Regions from separate parts of the Homo sapiens genome. Here region 1 is linked to region 2. The links are contacts of gene promoters, found by promoter capture Hi-C in human tissues and cell types (Jung and others, 2019). All regions are on one chromosome and are shown on one strand. The core of a region is centred on a gene start or on the middle of the fragment in contact, and the rest is flanking DNA. Distances in the headings are between cores, read along the strand shown.

What was found. Contacts are between HindIII fragments. The study calls those that stand out against the background at their distance.
Region 1: a contact is called between a fragment that was not itself captured here and the fragment with the promoter of KCTD17 in region 2, in 4 of the 25 tissues and cell types used here (IMR-90 fibroblasts, lymphoblastoid cells, spleen and 1 more).

Annotation. Positions count from the first base shown.
Region 1 is chr22:37,130,544-37,133,863 of GRCh38, forward strand. IL2RB (interleukin 2 receptor subunit beta) reads right to left here. Exons shown (of 10, transcript NM_000878.5): 9 at 1,841-1,925. Among named protein-coding and RNA genes, the nearest start is that of IL2RB, 18 kb to the right of the region's middle. The HindIII fragment of the contact is 9,461 bases long and covers 1-3,320 here.
Region 2 is chr22:37,049,794-37,053,165 of GRCh38, forward strand. KCTD17 (potassium channel tetramerization domain containing 17) reads left to right here and starts at 1,949. Exons shown (of 9, transcript NM_001282684.2): 1 at 1,949-2,156; 2 at 3,307-3,372. The coding sequence starts at 1,968. RefSeq lists silencers at 1,741-2,050, 2,061-2,180 and enhancers at 2,117-2,834, 2,835-3,372. The HindIII fragment of the contact is 12,846 bases long and covers 1-3,372 here.

The DNA.
Region 1 (3,320 bases), core at 780-3,279, 81 kb after region 2:
CCCCAACCCCCAGCCACATCATGCCTTCTTCCTCAGGACCCCGCTCCACACACTAGACCCAAGGATACCATACCCTCATGGGAAGCTGGAATGGTTTGCAGCTCCCACCTCACGATGTTGTAGGTTCATAGAATCAGGACTTGAAGCTGGAAGGTATCTGAGCATGCAGCTAATCTACCGCAGCCTCCAACCAGTTCAATGGGAGAATCTCTATGCTTCTGACACATAGGCAACCATGGCTTGCTTGAATACCTTTATAGATGGGAATCTTGCTACCCTCAAGGCTGAGGGAAGAATTTTAAGGAAATACATTCCCGCACATTAAGAGTACTGCAACTAATGGCCAGGCACGGTGGCGCACGCCTGTAATCCCAGCACTTTGGGAGGCCGAGGCGGGCAGATCACCTGAGATCAGGAGTTCAAGACCAGCCTGGCCAACATGGCAAAACCCCGTCTCTATTAAAAGTACAAGAATTAGCCAAGTGTGGTGGTGTGTGCTTGTAGTCCCAGCTACTCGGGAGACTGAGGCAGGAGCATCGGTTGAACCCAGGAGGCAGAGTTTGCAGTGAGCTGAGGTCGTGCCATTGCACTCTAGCCTGGACGACAGAGCAAGACTCCATCTCAAAAAATAAATAAATAAATAAATAAATAAAAGCACTGCAACTAAGATATTCTCATCTTGGGAGTTTTCCAAGGAGTTCCAGAAGGGGCCCTTGATCAGCCCTGATAGAGAACTCCAAAGCCAGGTCATGACAGCTCTGGTCCGGCATGGCTTTCCTCCTCCGCCACTCTTCTTGACCTCCCTCTGCCCCTACCTCATCCCCACCCCCCAATCTTGGGAGCCTAGAGTGGGGCTAGGGTGGTAAAAAGTACCCCCCATGTCCCCCCTTCATTCTTGAAGCTTCCTGCCTGAAGGGGGCATGGGCTGGGGAAGAGGAGACGACGGAATCTGAGATGGAGTTTAGAGCGTTACTGATCTGCGGGCCGGCACTTTAAAAATGAATCGGTGTTTTGTGACTCAAAGTGACGGGAAGACTTGTTAGTATCCACGCTAAGTTATGGAGCCTGCTCAGGAATTTTGAGCAGGGACAGGAGAAGCACAGAGCATGTCTGCACAGACAGTGGGGTGGAGAGAGCTTGTGCTGGCAGGTCCTGTTCGTTCAGCACACCGGCAACGGTAATACCAGATAGGGTACTTTTTTTTTTTTTTTGAGATGGAGTCTCACTCTGTCGCCCAGGCTGGAGTGCAGTGGTGCCATCTCAGCTCACTGTAACCTCCGCCTCCTGGGTTCAAGCGATTCCCCTGTCTCAGCCTCCTGAGTAGCTGGGATTACAGGCATGCACCACCAGCCCGGCTAATTTTTGTATTTTTAGTAGAGACAGGGCTTCACCATGTTGGTCAGGCTGGTCTCGAACTCCTGACCTCGTGATCTACCTGCCACAGCCTCCCAAAGTGCTGGGATTACAGGCATGAACCACTGCACCCAGCCTGATAGGGTTCTTTTGAACACTAACTGCGTGCCAGGCAATGTACTCAGGGCAGGACACATAGTAACACTGTTTTTCTCCTCATCTAACAGGTGGGGAAACTGAGGCCCAGGGAGGCTCTATAGGCCCAAGGTCACACAGCCAGAATGTGGTGGAGCTGGGATTAGAACCCAGGCAGTCTGGCTCAGATGGAAAGTGCCAGAGCTGGAGAAGAGACCCATGCACACCCCGGAGGCTGCTCACTTCGGCGTTTTGTCTCCTCTCACAAAACACAAAATTAGCTACTAACCTGCCACCCCCTCATCCCACTCACACCCCTGCCCACCTCTGTCTCCCCGCCCCGGCCTCCTACCTGGACGTCTCCTCCATGCTCTGAGCTCAGCTGGGAAAAGAACTTCGAGGGGTCTGGGGTGTTACACTTCAGGACCTTCTTCAGCCTGGACAGAGGAGAGGAGGGAAGGAGGAGGGTGAGAAAGGGAAGGACCGCGGTGTTATGCCATCGGCACCACAGCTCTGGATGCCAGGCACGGAGCCGCACCACATTTACTTATGTATTTCTTCCGCCGATACTAAGTGTTCACTGTGGGAGGACGCTGTGTTGGGCACTGGGGAGACAAGAATGGCCAACAAAGGAGGTCCCTGCTCTCAAGGAGCTGACATTCTCATGGGGAGATGGACACAAAGCATGTTGCAACATCACCATTCATTCTGTGGAGACAGAGAGCACAGTGCTACACAAGACGGGGAGGTGGGGGTCGATGGGGGTGAACACACAAGCCAGAGTGGTCAGGGACGGAGATGGCTAGAAGAAGTGGAATGAACCAGGAGGCGGGAGAGAGGAGATGGGCTTTCTTGTCAGGGCTGCCATGGATGGTGGTTCAGGTTGTACACTGCCCAAGGGCATTAGGCTTGGGCAGGGAGTGGGAAAGGTGGTGGTGAGTGAGGCTGAATTCCAGCCCATGTTCTGCTTGCTAAGCTGAGTGCCTGGAAGCTGTGTACATCACCGTGAAGAAAGAGGCACCATTTTTGATTTGCCCAAAGGTTCCACACAGCTGGTGGAGGCCCTCAAGGGCCAGGGTGTACTGCAGCGCAGTGAGCGGCCTCTGAAGAGTGTTAAACAGGAGAATGACATGGTGGAGAAAGCACTGAAGGGGCGCAAGAACGACAAGGAGGAGGGCAGTCTGGAGGCCACTGAACCCATGCCTGGGAGAGGACCTCTCCCTCTACAGGGACATGGTTTCCCTGAAGGCCTGCAGGGAGCTGTGGGCGGAGGGGACGGGTGGGTGGAGGAATGCTTGTCTTCTTGGGAGGAAAGAGGAAACGGGGCTCCGAACACTGCCGAGAACCACTGCTCCAGGACGAGGGTCAGGAGAGCGGCAGTCACTCCTAACTGGCTATGTGACCTTGGGCAAGTCAGCTGACTTCTCTGGCCAGTCCTGGCATCAGTTAAAAGGCAATGGTAGCCCCTGACTCACTGCCTTCCCAGTGCTGGGGAAAGTCGAGTGAGGTGACACAGCTAGGCACGCTTTGCAAACCTCTTGGGAGAAGCAGGGCTCTCATCAGGGGGCCACAACCCCCGGTCAGAAGTGTCACCTCCTCACCGCTTTGCCCTCCACCAGGCCACGCTCCACACAGCAGCCAGGGCTACAGAGGGCGAAGTGGATCCTGTCCCACTTCTGGGGAAACCCTCCATGACTGCTCGGCACACGGCCCAGGTCCTCACCACAGCCTGAGGCCCCAGGAAGCATCACTGCCGCCACAGGCCCAGGCTCAAGTTCAGCCTCCTGCCCCACCCACTTCTGTCTCCAGCCACACCAGCGCCCCTGCACTCT
Region 2 (3,372 bases), core at 699-3,198:
TAATTTTTGTATTTTTAGTAGAGAAGGGGTTTCACCATGTTGGCCAGGCTGGTCTCGAACTCCTGACCTTGTGATCTGCCTGCCTCGGCCTCCCAAAATGCTAGGATTACAGGCGTGAGCCACCGGCTGTTTTTTGGTTTTCTATCGTTTTATTTTTTTAAAATAGAGATGGGGGCCAGGCGCAGTGGCTCGCACCTGTAATCCCAGCACTTTGGGAGGCCAAAGTAGGAGGATCACTTGAGCTCAGGAGTTCAAAACCAGCCTGGCCAACGTGGTGAAACCCTATCTCTACTAAAAATACAAAAATTAGCCAGGCGTGGTGGTGCATGCCTGTCATCCCAGCTACTCAGGAGGCTGAGGCATGAGAATTGCTTGAACCCAGAAGGCAGAGGTTGCAGTGAGCTGAGATGGTGCCACTGCACTCCAGTCTGGGTGAGAGAGTGAGACTGTATCTCAAAAAAGAAAAAGAGAGAGAGAGAGAGAGAGAGAGAGAGAGAGAGAGAGATAGGGGTCTCACTATGCTGTCCAGGCTGGTCTTGAACTTCTATGCTCAAGCGAGCCTTGGCCTCCCAAAGTGCTGGGATTACAGGTGTGAGCCACCGCACCCAGCCTACGCTAGATGTTTATAGACATTTCATAACTTAATCTTCACAGCAATGCTCTGGGGTCACAACTGTTGTAAATCCCATTTGGCAAGAGAGAAAGCCAATCTCAGAGAGGAAGTTGCTCAGGACACACCTAGTGAATTTTAAGTAGCAGGATTCCAGTACACCTTTGATCCACTCCCTGCCAAGGAGAAAAGCTTTATGCAGAAAGCAGGGCATTGGGTGGTAACAGGGAAACTTCTCCCAGCACAGGGCCAGGCTGCCCAGTGTTCGGGCCAGCTGCGTGTGACATTGGATCAGTGAGAGGAGCCCCAGACCTCTCCCCCATAGGCCAGGACCAGGACTGAAACCAGTAAGGAGAGGAAGCTAAGGAGACAGCTTCCTCGTCAGCCCTTGTCCCTCCCTGGTCCCGGACCACATGAGGAACTGCTCCCTTCCCCCATCCTGAGGTCCACAGAATGACGGTTCCCCTCCGAGTTAACTGGGGAATAACTCAGAAAGCCACCCGCAGAACCAATCCCTCCTCCTTCTTAGGGAGGACGTGGAAAAACTGAGAAAGGCCAAAAGCCAGAATGGAAACTCAGTTCTCCTGACTCGGATCCAGGGCGTGCTCTACTCTTCCTCCTTAGAAGTCTTTCCCAAGGATCCCTGACATTCCATGGTCAGGGAGCAGGAAAGAGACCTTGGTGGGTACTCACTCACCAGCAATGTGAGTAGGGCGGTCACTTCGCTTCTGTGGCTTCATCTGTAAAATGGGTATAGCCCAAAATACCAGACTCACAGGGCTGCTGAGAGCTTAAATTCATAACACATATACACAAAGTGTCTGGCATACAGGTGCTCAGCCAACCTCAAGTCCAGCTATGTCGTTCTCCAAGAACTCAGGTGAGGGAAAGAACCCACTCCCACCCACCCCGCCCCCACCCCTATACACACAAAGGGCAAATGAAAAAATATGACGAAACACATGCGGGTCAATGCTATGGGGATTCCTGGAGGGGAAAGTTTCTTCCCTTATCAGCTGTTGGACGACGGAGACGGCACAAAGGAAAAACAAGAATGCTCGGACCCATGGGATGACTGCAGATTTGGGGAAGCCCTCATTCTTTTCCCAGAGGCCGGGAGTTCGACCTTCCCCATACACAGTGATTTGGCCAGAGGGCATCTTCACCACCCCAGACTGCGGGCCTGCGGGGAAGGGCGAAGCGGGGCGGGACCGGGGGCGGGAGCAGCGCGGGGCGGGACCCTACCCGCGGCCCACGCGGAGCCAGGAGGCGCGGACTACAGCTCCCGGCCTGCCCCGCGTGCGGTCCCCGCCCGCCCCCAGCGCCCGGGAGGAGGATGCAGACGCCGCGGCCGGCGATGAGGATGGAGGCCGGGGAGGCAGCGCCGCCGGCGGGGGCGGGCGGCCGCGCCGCAGGCGGCTGGGGCAAGTGGGTGCGGCTCAACGTGGGGGGCACGGTGTTCCTGACCACCCGGCAGACGCTGTGCCGCGAGCAGAAGTCCTTCCTCAGCCGCCTGTGCCAGGGGGAAGAGCTGCAGTCGGACCGGGTGAGGCCCCCGGGGTGGGCGGCGAGCGGGCGGTGGGTCCTCCGCTCGCCCGACGCGGGGCTGTCGGGCCTGGCTCGCCCGCCAGGCTGGGGACCCGGCCGGGTTCATTTCCGAGGAACTGGAGGCGGGAAGAAGCGGCAGGAGGAGGGGAGGGGGAGGTGGGTCTGGTAGTGAGGGATGTACCCATTGCCGTGGCAACGGGACGACGCAGGCCGCGGCCATTAGAAGCTCTCCAGCCGCCCCGGATCGGGGCCTCTCCTTCTCCTTTGGGGCTGTGGACAGGGAGAGACCTGGGACCTTTCCTCCCTCCCAAAGGGGACTCCTGCTCTGGGGAAGGAGTCGACGAGGCTACTTCTCCCGCTCTTTGGGATGTGGGTGGCGGAGGGGTGCAGGGAGCTAGCTGGATGGAGGAGCCCTGGGGCGCCTTCTGAGCGGGCTGAATCTAGAAGGAGCGTTGGCCCAGCGGGCACTATTTCTGAGCACCCACCCTGACTCTGCTGCACACTGCCTGCCGCGACCTTGAGTCGGACCCTTCCCTGCACTGCGCTCAGCCTCCTTCCTCATCTGTAACACGAAGGGCTGGTCTGAAGATGACCTCTAAGGTCTCCTGTCCCCCATCCGTGACCCTCCGATGCTGTGGCCTTTGGCAAGTCGCCTCACCTCTCAATGTCTCCGATCTCTCTGTAGAGTCGCATGGAAGCCCACCCTGCCTCCCTGCCCGCCCGAGTGTCCAGTGAGATAGTGACTCCTTTGGAAACTTGTAAACATCCCCTGAAAGCCTAGGGACCTGGGGGCGACAGTGGGGCTGGCTTCAGGGGACAGCCTCTCAGAGGGACATTCTTCGAGCCCTGTGCTGGGCCAGTTGCCACTCAGACATCCTCTCACCGGATGCTCACAGCAAACCCTGATTAGGGGGAGAGGAGTGAGTTTCAAAGAGGCCAAATCATTAGCCTAAGGTCACACATTCAGGAAGAGTCAGAAGCAGGGCTTGAACTCAGGTCCATCTGACCCCAGTGCCTTTTTGCTACTTTGTGCCTGCTCCATCCAGGGAAGAGCTCTCCCTCCACTCTCCTTCCCTCCCTGTGCGTGTGCGGGGTTGGCTGGGGAGAAGCCTCACTCTTCTCTCACCGAGCATCCCTCACCTCCATAGGATGAGACCGGGGCCTACCTCATTGACCGTGACCCCACCTACTTCGGGCCCATCCTGAACTTCCTC